Regions from separate parts of the Homo sapiens genome. Here regions 2 and 3 are each linked to region 1. Evidence: promoter capture Hi-C in human tissues and cell types (Jung and others, 2019). All regions are on one chromosome and are shown on one strand. Each heading gives the region's core, a stretch centred on a gene start or on the middle of the fragment in contact. The rest is flanking DNA. Distances are from core to core; before and after follow the strand shown. Region 1 holds the start of UNC13D (unc-13 homolog D). Region 2 overlaps MXRA7 (matrix remodeling associated 7). Region 3 holds the start of UBE2O (ubiquitin conjugating enzyme E2 O).

Region 1 (4,060 bases), core at 1-2,500:
CTCACCTCCTGCAGGTATCGCAGCAGCTCAGAGGCCTCCGTCACATGGTTGGGCTCAGGATGACCCAGGCGGTGCAAGACAGTGTAGAGTGCGTCCTCGTAGAGCAGGGCCCGCTAAGACACACGGGGTCACCTTGGGGACCCCACCAGCCACCCCTGGCACCAACACCTCTCGCCATGGGCAGGACAAGGGCGGCTTGTGCAGCGGAGGGAGTTGAGACCCAGGAGTCCCCTCCCCACCGCAAGTTGCTTGCTGCCATCAGCGTCGGCCGGCAGGAGGACACACAGCCGCCCTCCCCACCTCTCTGCACCCCAGCACTCTGACTCTTACCTGCTCGGGGGAGAAGTGGTGGGATGGAGGCTGGATCTGCAGAGCAAGGTGGAAAGGCAGTGTCCCGGGAGGCCCAGAGCAGGCTCAGATGGACAGGAATGGCTCCTCTGAGGCCTGATCCAGGCCAAGGGTATGGGGGCCCCAGCACCCCGGCCTCCAGCCCCAGTGATGCCCCGCACCTGTTCCCCCAGCAGGCCTCCTGGAGGTCCGTCCCTGGGCCCGCCGTGGCTGAGGTCCATGGGTGCCCAGCAGCGCGAGCCCTCCGCACCCGCACCCCACCTCCCTCCCTTCCCCAGAGGAAACAGCTCTGCTTATCAGTGGCGGCTGCTCCTCACCCAGCAGCGGAAGTGAGGCTCGGCAGCGGAGGTGAGGGGGGTGCCACGTCGGCCTGGGGGTCTGCTGCTCCCCGAACAGCTCACCCCACAGCAGGGACACCCCCACCTAATGGAGTCGGCTCTTCTGAAGCTGGAGGAGTAGGGGATGGGGTCAGGCCAACCGGGAGGGAGGGGTTCTGAGAGCCTCAGACCACAGGGCCTGAGGCCCACAGTGGCCCAGAGTCCATCTGGCAGCCCCTGCTCTGCTGGCCCAGGGGGCTCTCCCCAGGGTGGAGTAGGCAGGGGAGGGTCGCTGGTCCCCAGTCCCAGCCTTCGAGAGGTGGGGCCAGACAGCAGGGCACCCGTACCCGAGACCACAGTGCTCCCCAAGGCCAGCTCTCTCCCCAGTGAGGTCACTCCTACCTCCGGGGCCATTTGGGGCGGGGGATCCTGTAGATCTCTGACTCTGCGGCGCCTTATCTTGATGGCCTGGCGCAAGAAGGGAGGGCGCTGCTGCGGATGGGAGAGGAGTGTCGCCATGGTGGCCTTCTCTGCCCTTCCCTGTCCGCTGGTGCTGGGTGAAGACAGCGAAGCCACAGGATTATGCAAAGAGCCTGGGGCTGCCACCCTCTGTCAGGGGAAGTTTTAGGGAGGGTGGCTGGGAGGGACGGAAGGGTGAGGGTTTCACCGCTTCGGAGAGGCAGTCTCCCAGGCCCCCTGCACCTTCCCCAGCTGGGATCCCTACAGGACCCTCCTCTGGCTGGAGCAGAAGGTGGACCCCGTGGGCAGGCCTGGCCCCGCCCCACCCTCCTACAGAGGCCCTGGGAAGGGGACAACGCTCTCAGCAGGGGGCGGGGGGGCCCAGAACAGGCGGGCAGCATCCTGCCCCATCCATGTGCTGTGCCCAGGCTGGGCTGAACCCTGAGAGAAGCTGACCTGGGCCCGGGGGGGTTCTCACCCCACTTCCTCGAGTGCGTCCAGACGTGGGGCGGGGCGGGGTGGGGTGGGGTGTGGTGGCGCCCAGGGTGGGGGCTCCCAAGAGGCGTCTCCCTGGAGGACAGCCAGTTGCTCAGCCTGCCTGGCCCCACAGGTGACATTCCTTGGAGATGACGGGGCCAAGCTGTGCTGGGCAGGGACAGCCCTGTGCCCCTGCCCCCACCTTGGCAGTCAGGACAGTGCTCCCTTCAGACACCCTTGAAGGGGGCTTAGCCAAGTCCCAGAGAGCTCTGGGCCAGGCTGGCCAGGAGGAGGAGGCAGAGGGGCTGCTGCCCGATCTCTCCTGAGGACAGACTTGGCTCCCGGGGGACAGGAAAATGCGCCTCAGCATGGGGCTTTCCTAGAGCTCTGTGGCCTGCCCACCCTGTGCCCAGTGCTGGGCTGGGGGACTTGCGGGCGTGTGGGCCTGGTCACGGCCTTTGGCCATTTCCCACCCTCCTGTCCCTTCAAGTTCACAGCAGGGCACGTGACGTGGGTGGTGGCAAGCCGGCTTGGCTACCTCAGTGTCCCTGTCACAGGTCCTGACGTGCTCCAGGGCTGACTCGGCCTCCTCCCTCCAGCAACCAGGACTTAGGCCAGGGCTGCCATTCCTCGAGGAGCCAGCAGGGGACAAGGTGGCAGCCCCAACTCCTCCCTTCAAGGCCAACTCTGGGCCACATCCACCTCTGTCCCAGCCAGGCCCTGGGGACTCAGTGGGGGAGGGACACAGCTGCTGAGCGACAACCGTTAAGAACCAGCTCCAGAGGCCAGAGCTGTCTTGGGGACCAGACAGGCTGGCTGGGCCGTGAGAATGGGGATCCTCCCATGGGAGGGAACCGTCCCAGAAGTCTCCAGGGCCCTCAGCGGCCAGACGGCTCTCCTTCCGGAAGAGACCCCCGGGTCACCACACGCAGAGCCAGAAAGGGTCCAGTTATTTCATTTTTACTATTTCACATTTTCAGCAAACAAATCGAGGTGCAAACAGGGTTTATTTCACATTAATATATTAACTGGATTTTTTGTCAAATAAATAGGGAATTCTCTTTAAATAACCATCTCCTCACTTCATGGCCAGTCCAGGGACAAACAAGAGTGAATGTTAGCGCATCCAGGGGCACAAAGCTTAAGGGGAAGAAGCAGGCTGGGGGGCTGGTGGCAGGTCCCGGCCAGCACACAGGGTCAGGGGCCCTTGTTCCCGGCCCCACCCAGCAGCCACCAAGTGGACAGACATGCATTCTCTGGTTCCAGTCAGGAAGCTCCTTCTAGAAGGAAGTGAGAGGTGAGGGAAAGCAAATTCCAGAAACACCAGCAAAAGGCAGAAGGGCTTCCTCCCAGCCTCGGCGGCCCTGCCCCGACGCCACCCAAGCCCTGGAAGCTCATTTTACAGCTTCAAAAGTCACACAGGGTGGCAACAACATGACCCAGGACAGGGAAGGGAAGGAAGGGTGGCGGGGGCTGCAGCTGGACCCTGGCTGAGTGGAATGCGGGCGCGGTGGCCTTCTGAGACCAGCACAGACCAGCAGAGGGAATGTGAGCAGGGTCTGGCAGGGCCCGGGAAGACACCTGGCTGGTCTGAAGTGGCTCATGAGGCTGAGTGTAGCAGTGGGTGCCAGACTGAGGGAGCTGGACTGCGGTGGAGGAGGTGGCCAGAGAGTCCCTTCGAGGGGAGAAGCTGAGAGTGAAACAGGAACAGGGGATGCTCCGTGCTCCCAGAAGAGCCCCAGACGGTGAGGGAGGTACGCTGGGCAGCACTGTGGGCTCCGGGCTGGCATGGGAAGCTGGGCGGCACCTCTCCCGAGGCCGGGGGCCCTAATGTCCCACAATGCTAGTTCCTGGTAATTGTTTATGATCAGACCTGGAGGGAGAACAAGGCGCCCCCTCCCCTCCCCAAGCCCCAGCACAGCCCCGATGGGAGGGGTAGGGTAGAGAGATGAGGGTGGGAGGCAGGGAGGCAGGAGGGCCTACTGGGTCTTCTTATCTTCCGGTGGGTAGTAGGGAGGTGGCGGCGGCTGGCTCTAAAGAAGGGAGAAAGGAGAGACTTGCATTAGAAGGTTTAAAACATGGTGCGGTCATCCCCCTGCGGCTCCCAGCATCTGCGGCTGTGGGGCTGCACCGGCACTGCCAAGCCCTCTCACCGTGGGCATGTAGACGTTGTGAGGATTGCCTGGGTTGTAATAGGCGCTGGCGGCTGCTTCTGCGGCCTTGGCTTCGGCTGTGAGAGCAAACACACCTGGTGTCGGTGACAAGTTCTCCTCCCCCTGAGCTCAGCTAAGAGACCCCGGGCCCCCATGGCTCGGGGCAGCTGGTGCTGGGGGTCCAGTTCCACCAATGAGAGCAGCAGGTGAGGTTTCCTGAGCACATGCCACGCGCTGGCACGGTCCTTTCCAGGCCCATCGCATGTCTCACCTCATCTAATCCTTGAGCCAATGCCCCAGGTGCCA
Region 2 (4,060 bases), core at 410-2,909, 860 kb after region 1:
TGAAAGAACAAAGTTTATCTATTAGGAAAGCCCCTGGACTTCTTTCATATATGGAAAAAAATTAAGTTAGGCACTCAAACAACTTTACAAAAAAATACCCACTGGAACTACTGAACAGGGAACTCTACTTACAGCCCTCCAAGGCATCTTCTATTCAGTTGCTCTATATCGTTATAGTTATTGTGAATACAATATTTTATGTTCTACCTTTTTACTTATTTCATACTAATTTGCTAATGAATCCAATGTGCTAATTAATGAACATTTGGATTATTTCTAGTTTTTTCCCCAGTAAGTCACTGGGCCTGTTCTGGACTAAATATTTGTGTCCCCTGCAAATCTATCTGTTGAAGTCTTAACCCCCAGTGTGATGGTATCTGGAGGTGGGGGTCTTTGGGAGGTGAGATTTAGACGAGGTCACGATGGTGGAGTCCCTACAATGCTATGAGGGCCCTGATAAGAAGAGGAAGAGACATCCCTCTCTCTCTGGCATGTGAAAGTACAGCAAGAAGGTGGCTGTCTGCAGGCCAAAAAGAGAGCCCTCACCAAAACCAGAATCTGCCAACACCTCCATCTTGGACTTCCCAGCCTCCAAAAGTGTAGGAAATAATGCCTGTTGTTTAAGCAACCCAGTCTGTGGTATTTTGATATATCAGCCTAAGCTGCTTAAAGACAAGGACCTAAAGTGATATAAACAACTGGCAAATATCTACTTGGCCCTCCACTACTTGGCTTCTGAGATTTTGCTAAGAGAACAGAAAGTAGGACCACACTGCCATCACAAAGGCCCACACTGCCATCACAGAGGACCACACTGCCATCACGAAGGCCCACTCTGCTATCACAAAGGACCACACTGCCATCACAGAGGACCACACTGCCATCACAAAGGCCCACGCTGCCATCACAAAGGCCCACGCTGCCATCACAAAGGACCACACTGCCGTCACAGAGGCCCACGCTGCCGTCACAGAGGCCCACGCTGCCATCACAGAGGCCCACGCTGCCATCACAAAGGCCCACTCTGCCGTCACAGAGGCCCACTCTGCCATCACAGAGGCCCACGCTGCCGTCACAGAGGCCCACGCTGCCGTCACAGAGGCCCACGCTGCCATCACAAAGGACCACGCTGCCATCACAGAGGCCCACTCTGCCATCACAGAGGCCCACGCTGCCGTCACAGAGGCCCACGCTGCCGTCACAGAGGCCCACACTGCCATCACAAAGGACCACACTGCCATCAAAAAGGACCACACTGCCATCAAAAAGGACCACACTGCCATCAAAAAGGACCACACTGCCATCACAAAGGCAGGAGAGATGATGGGGAAGTTCACCTGCTCCTGGGTCATTCTGGGAAGGCTGGGGTCTCTGTAGCTTCCAGAGCCCACACCTATGGTGAACAGGTTGGTGAGGGCAGAGGACACAGGTGGACCTGACAGCAGGGTGACTTCAGGGGAACCAGGGCCAAGTCACATGGTTAAGACAGACAGATGAAGGCTGTGCTACCCACTCAGACCACCACCTCCAGAGTGTCTGAAAAACCAACCCCTTTCCCAAGAAATTTCCCAAAGAAGAATGTTGGCTTCTTTGTTCCAACATTCTCTTTTGAAAAATTCCAAACCTACAGAAAAGTTGAAATAATAATACAATGAATACCATACACCCTTCACCTAGATTCACCAATGGTTAACATTTTGCCATCTTTGCATTCTCTCTCTATACACACACACACTGTGTGTGTGTGTGCATGTAACTATTTGAATCATGACATGTCATCCCAAAATGTTTCAGCCTGCATCTTCCTAAGGATAAGGACATTGTTTACACAGCCATCTGCCGGTATCGTACACAAAAAATTCAGCGTTGATTCAATAAGCTTACCTAACACAGCCATTCATTTAAAAAATGTCTCAATTATCTCCAGTATGTCCTTTATAGCTCCCTTCTCTGATGGAGAATCCAATCAAGGATCAAGATTGTATTTATTTGTCATATTGCTTTAATCTCCTAAATCCCAATTAAATCTAGAAGAGTCTCTGTGTGCTTCATGACACCGGCCCACTGCCTTGCAGGAAGTCCCTACTCTTTTTTTTTTTTTTTTTTTTTTTTTTTTTTTGAGATGGAGTCTCGTTCTGTTGCCCAGGCTGAAGTGCAGTGGCACGATCTTGGCTCAACTGCAACCTCAGCCTCCTGGGTTCAAGTGATTCTCCTGCCTCAGTTTCCTGAGTAGATGGGATGACGTGCACGCCACCATGCCTGGCTAATTTCTGTATTTTTAGTAGAGACGGGGTTTCGCCATGTTGGCCAGGTTGGTCTCGAACTCCTGACCTCAGGTGATCCTCCTGCCTCGGCCTCCCAAAGTGCTGGGATTACAGGTGTGAGCCATCGCGCCCGGGCTCTAGTCTGTCTATGAGCAGAGCTAGGCCCCAAGTACCGAGATACTTGAGTCCTGGCACAGACAAGAAATTTAACTCTAGTGCTATTCAAATGACCCTTGACGCTTTGCCAATTACCAATGTTTGGGAATCCGACCATCCAGCCTTGCTCCAATCCACAAGTCCATTAGGTAAGAGGCCTGGCAATCCTAAAACCCCAACCTACACAGGAGCACCAAGAAAGCCCTGAGTCCTGGCCTGAAAAGAGGCCGGCTCCTGTTCTTGACTTCGTTGGCTCATGATTCTTTGCGTGAACAGGCCTTGCCTATAATGCTTCCTCACAGCCCACCCTGTGCTAATCCTTAGGAGAGAAAAGAGGTTCTAGCAGTATCATTCCGCTTCTCCTCAGCCTCCCTGCCCTGGCCTGTGCTGCCCTGGGGAAGCAAGAGCTGCACTGATCTCATCCCCATTTCTTTGGTCCATTTCCAGGGTCTCGGCCTATAGTAGCCCCTCCCCACTACTTTGTCCTTGGCCAAAGAGGGCACCGTGCACTAGGGGACGCTCCTGAGCGATCCCCAATAGCAGCTGAAGGCTGCTTCCCGGGGCGAGAGATCCTTCTCAATAATCAGCTTTGTAGTCAGAGGCAGCAGCTGCCCCAGCCCGCCCAGGCCTCCCTGGGAAGGGAGAGGACTGGATTAGAAAGGAGGCAGTTAATGGAAAATGAAGAGGGAGGGGAGAGGTGAGTTACACGCTGCTCCCCAGGGCAGTGACTTCCGAGCTAACAGCAGGTGGAGTTGCCCTCCTCCCTCGCTGTTGGTGGGGTTCGCTTAGGGACGGAGGGAGAAGGAGGCTGGCAGAGGGCATAGCCCCACTTCCCAACCCTGATTTGAGTTATCTTCCCCAGGGGGCCTTTCTCCCTATCTGTCCTCCAAGCCCCAGCAGTGTGATCATCAGAAGAAAGCACTGGAAGCTCTTGGAAACGCTGGAGTCCACTTCAGGACAATTTGTTTTCCTTTCTTTTTTTTCTTGTCACTGACTCGAAGCTCATCAAGACAATTTCTAAGCAGCTTCTTAGGTTAATGCCACCACTGGGAGTGGGTGGGATGACACAATATCTGTGTCCCCACAGCACCTGGCTTAATGTTTGCAGGCAGGAGTTTTGGGGGAGCTTTGGCCAGCTCAGGAAGGCCTGGGGACTTGAACCCAAAGGGGAAGGGCACTGACTTCAATTGAATTCTCCTGTGGGGTGGGTTCTCTCTGGAGGGTGCCTTAGCGGGAGGACAGACACAAGCCTCAAGTCATCCTCACTGGCACCTATGTCATGGGGGCTGCCTGGCACGCGAACCCCCATACTGCCTTGTCCTTCAGAGCACCCATTCAGCTTCAGAGGACGTGCATTCACCCAGACAGTGGCAAATTATGCGAGTGGCCCTATTTAAACACCACTGAACCTATTCCTGTAGGTACCATGTGCTGAGAGCCGAAAGCCTTGTAGAAAGTTCTTTAAGCGCTGTGCCCCACAGGATTGAGCTAAGACAGGGCGCCGCTAAAGGACATTTTGCACTTCAGTCCAGAGCCTGGTGTGGGTGATAAAGGGCCAGCCCTGTAAGGCCAGGACTGACTGAGTGTGCATGACGGCTCCAGAACTGTCTAAAGGCCTCTCCTGCTCCCGCGAGACCTCG
Region 3 (4,060 bases), core at 881-3,380, 610 kb after region 1:
CACCAAAGTCAAGACGGACGGGAACAACAACTGATAAACATAGCGGCTCCCAGTAGTGAGCTGGGCCTACCTCCCTGAGTCCTAGGGCAGGAGGCCACAACACAGAGGATGCTGCAGTCAAATGAGTTGCGTTCCAAAAATCACGAATCTCTCAAATAGATGGGTGGTGAAAAACATTCTTAAAAACTCACAGAAAGACACCAGCAATCATCTGGTGTCACACAGTATACAGCAATAACCCTCTTTTACTGACACAATACTGGGTAATTTTTAACAAGCATTCTGTTGCACAAAAGTAATATTTTCCAAATACTCTTGTAAATGGACTGATAATTTTCCTTCCAAGTCTCAGAGCTGTTGCCTGATTCACATTTCTCTGAGGGGAAGCAGGGTCCTGTGTGTGGATTTGTGTCTGTGGATGTATGTGCATCCCCAACAAAAAGACCCCGCTGGTATCAGCAGTCACTTCTGCCTCTAGGAAATGGATCATGTGCTCTTCTCTGGAGTGGGGCCTTTTTCCTTCTCAAGCCGTTGTCACAGACCCCGCTTTGTAGTTTGACATGAAACCCCGTTCCTCTGTAGTCTTTGTCTCCCACTGTGTGAGAAACCCAGATCAACTTCCAAAGTGCCCTCCCCTGAAATCAGACCTCTCAACCTCCCAAGGACCTAAAACAGCGTAGGCCTGATTCCTGCTTAGAAATGTTTTCTTGAAGGGGAGGGGAAGTAGGAGAGAAAGAAGGGGTGTGAGATACAGGGGGGTGTGTGTGTGTGTGTGTGTGTGTCAATTACTGATAGGAATTCACATTCTGGAAAACAAGCCACCAAACCAACCCGGGTTCAAGGTTTCGGGTTTATGATGACAAGCCTCTTTGTTTTGTAAAACTGCTATACTCACTAGCATCACCCCAAAAACCATACGGGAGTCAGATGTCTGCTTAACAGCTTCAGGTCAAGAAAAAACCTTCGGGTTTCCAAATTGGTGACTCCCCTCTACCCAGGGTTCTGGATTATTTTTTTCAAGGAGTCCATATGCACTTAGGAGTCATCAATCCCGGTCGCAGCTGTCAGAATCCTCCCCCCCAAGTACTATTCATACCGGGGCTCTGATTGCTAATGATTTTACTCACAAAGTTCCCTGCAGCAATTAAAAGGAGGCAGCAGGGTAAAACAAAAAGAGGCTGGGTGGCTTCACCATAATGCAGCCTGTAAGCTAGTGAACTTCTTGGGTTCGGCTGGGATTTTCACCTCTATCTTTGTTTTGGAATGCCCACAACCCCTCCCTGCACGGACCCGGCACGGCCTTCATTTCTGGATGCACAATGCAGTACCGAGCTCCTTGGGGGTCAGCAAAACGCCGCACTGGTGTAACGCCGAACGCGCCCCAGAACCTGAGTCCCCACGGGAGTCGGTCCACGTCTCTAAATCTCGAGGCCGACACCACAGCATAACATGTCTTAGAAGTCCCCTCAAGTCGGGAAGCCCAGGGCCCGCCCGGTCCCGGGCCAGCAGTGCCTGGCTGGCGTGTGCGCCCAGAGCTGCTGCAATGACTTTGCATGGAGTGTACCCTCCACTGGGGCTGTCCTCCCGCGTCGGCCACTGCAGTGGCACCGCTCCGGGCAGGGCCCTGCACGCCGTCCTTCCCTGGCCTCGGCCCGGCCGCCGACCCCCTGCCGCCCGCGCCGCCCAGCCCCCGCCCGCCGCACCTTGGTCTCCTTCACATGCTGCTTGACGCCCTCCGGGTACCACTGGACGCGCACGTAGCCGCGGCGCAGGGGGCTGGCCCGGCCCTCCTCGTGGCCCGCGCCCCCGGCCTCGGAGCACCCCGAGCTCCCGCGGCCCTCCTCCTCGCCCTCCGAGTCCGAGTCCTCGCCGTGGATGAGGCGCACCAGCCCGAAGTGCACGGAGCCACGGTAACGGCCCGACACCAGGTCGTGAGAAAACAGCAGGCGCTGCGAGCCGGCTTCTGGGCCGGAGTCCGAGGACGGCCCGGAGGCCGAGTCCGAGGCGGGCGCCGGCGCCGGGACGGGGGCTGCGGCTGGGGCCGGGACTGCCTCCGGGGCTGGAGCCGGGGCCTGGGCTGGAGCGGGAGCTGCGGGCGTGGGGGCTGCGGGATCCGCCATAACTGCTCTGCGCGAGTCTCGGGCGGCGGCGGCGACAGCGGCGGCGAACGAGGCGCGGGGAGGCGGGACCAGCGGGCGCCGGGGGCGGGGCCATAGCGCGCTGACGTGTCCCTGCGTGGCGCCGTCGTCAGGGAGCCGGGATGCAGTTGCTAGGAGCCACCGCCTCGTCGCTAGGGGACGCTGAAGATGCCGCGGGGGGCGGGGGCAGGATGGAATCCACTAAGAAGGGGCGAGACCAGTGAGGATTCAACTAAAGGGAGCGAGAAGGGGCGGGGACCCGGGAGGAGGAAGTGGAGTGGCCACCGAGGAAGAGGGGAGTGGTCGGGGTGGGGCACAGGATGGTGGAGAGACTGTCAACAACTTTTAATGAGCTCCCTTGGCGTCCTAGCCTAGCCCCCAGGCACTGGGAGCATTGCAGAAAGAGAAAGATACTGTCCCTGTCCTCTAGGTGTTTCCAGTCTAGTTGGGGAGACAAAACAAATACACATTAAATAGATAACAAACAACTCCAACTTGTAAGGCTATAATAGATACGTGTAGAGCATATGTATAATGCACTGTATTCAGGAATTCCAAGCAGTTCGAACGTCATGACCCCTCAGAAGTTGACCCAGAAGCTGGTGAAGGAGGCCCAGAGAAAGGTAACAAAAGGATCAGTGGTCCCAGTGGTTTGGCTACAAATCCATGCAGATAAATTCAAAGCTCCCTGAAGCCAAGAATGAATGGCAAGAGGTAGTATAGTAAGGTAGCTAAGAGTGGGGACCACGGATTCCAATTTTTGGCACTGCCACTTACTAATCTATAAAAATAGGCACACTGATTAACTTATTTTCATCTTAATTTGCTCATCTGTGAAATAGGGATGATAATAGCAATACTCATCTCATTGGGCAATTGGAGGATTAAGTGAAGTAGAACAGTGCCTGGCATTTAGCTCCTTCGATAAGCTTAACCATTGTTGTACTATTTCCAAACTCCCTGCCTAGACTAAATTCCAGACTGGCAGAACTGTTATGGTCTGCTCCATATTGTCATTTTAAAATATAAAAAGTAGGCCGGGCGCGGCAGCTCACACCTGTCATCCCAGTACTTTGGGAGGCTGAGGTGGGCGGATCACGAGGTCAAGAGATTGAGACCATCCTGGCCAACATGGCGAAACCCCATCTCTACTAAAAATACGGAAAAAAAAAAAAAATAGCTGGGCGTGGTGGCACATGGCTGTAGTCCCAGCTACTCAGGAGGCTGAGGCAGGCAAATCGCTTGAACCTGGGAGGCTGAGGTTGCAGTGAGCCCAGATCGCGCCACTGCACTCCACCCTGGGCAACAGAGCAAGACTCTGTCTCAAAAAAATAAATAAATAAAAATAAATAAAATATAAAAAGTAACTCTAGGGCCAGGCGTGGTGGCTCATGCCTGTAATCCCAGCACTTTGGGAGGCAGAAGCAGATGGATCACCTGATCACCTGAGGTCAGGAGTTCAAGACCGCCCTGGCCAACATGGCGAAATCCCTTCTCTACTAAAAGTACAAAAATTAGCTGGGCGTGGTGGTGTGCACCTGTAGTCCCAGCTACTTGGGAGGCTGAGGCAGGAGAATTGCTTGAATCTGGGAGGCAGAAGTTGCAGTGAGCCGAGATCATGCCACTACACTCCAGCCTTGGCAACAGAGCAGGACTCTGTCTCAAAAAACAAAAAACAAAAAAAAGGCTGGATGTGGTGGCTCTTGCCTGTAATCCCAGCACTTTGGGAGACCGAGGCGGGTGGGAGACCCGAGGTCAGGAGTTCAAGACCAGCCTGGCCAAGATGGTGAAACCCTGTCTCTACTAAAAATACAAAAATTAGCCGGGCGCGGTGGCAGCCGCCTGTAATCCCAGCTACTCGGAAGGCTGAGGCAGGAGAATCACTTGAACCTGGGGAGTGGAGGTTGTAGTGAGCCTAGATC

The links. The method cuts DNA at HindIII sites, captures the fragments that hold promoters and counts their contacts. A contact is called where the count stands out against the background at its distance.
Region 2: a fragment that was not itself captured here is called in contact with the fragment with the promoter of UNC13D in region 1 in 1 of the 25 tissues and cell types used here (hippocampus).
Region 3: the fragment with the promoter of UBE2O here is called in contact with the fragment with the promoter of UNC13D in region 1 in 1 of the 25 tissues and cell types used here (psoas muscle).

The regions. Positions count from the first base shown.
Region 1 is chr17:75,843,154-75,847,213 of GRCh38, forward strand. It overlaps UNC13D (unc-13 homolog D), which reads right to left and starts at 1,251. Exons shown (of 32, transcript NM_199242.3): 1 at 1,068-1,251; 2 at 331-366; 3 at 6-113. The coding sequence starts at 1,184. It overlaps WBP2 (WW domain binding protein 2), which reads right to left. Exons shown (of 8, transcript NM_012478.4): 7 at 3,755-3,831; 8 at 2,546-3,634. The coding sequence ends at 3,581. RefSeq lists silencers at 521-580, 1,431-1,490, 1,501-1,660 and enhancers at 768-1,472, 1,891-1,970, 2,101-2,190. The HindIII fragment of the contact is 8,770 bases long and covers 193-4,060 here.
Region 2 is chr17:76,705,204-76,709,263 of GRCh38, forward strand. All of the region lies in intron 1 of MXRA7 (matrix remodeling associated 7), which reads right to left. Among named protein-coding and RNA genes, the nearest start is that of MXRA7, 3.7 kb to the right of the region's middle. The HindIII fragment of the contact is 4,690 bases long and covers 1-4,004 here.
Region 3 is chr17:76,451,022-76,455,081 of GRCh38, forward strand. It overlaps UBE2O (ubiquitin conjugating enzyme E2 O), which reads right to left and starts at 2,131. Exons shown (of 18, transcript NM_022066.4): 1 at 1,704-2,131. The coding sequence starts at 2,120. It also overlaps a transcript of AANAT not described here. RefSeq lists silencers at 1,483-1,682, 1,803-2,342, 2,137-2,305. The HindIII fragment of the contact is 12,276 bases long and covers 1-4,060 here.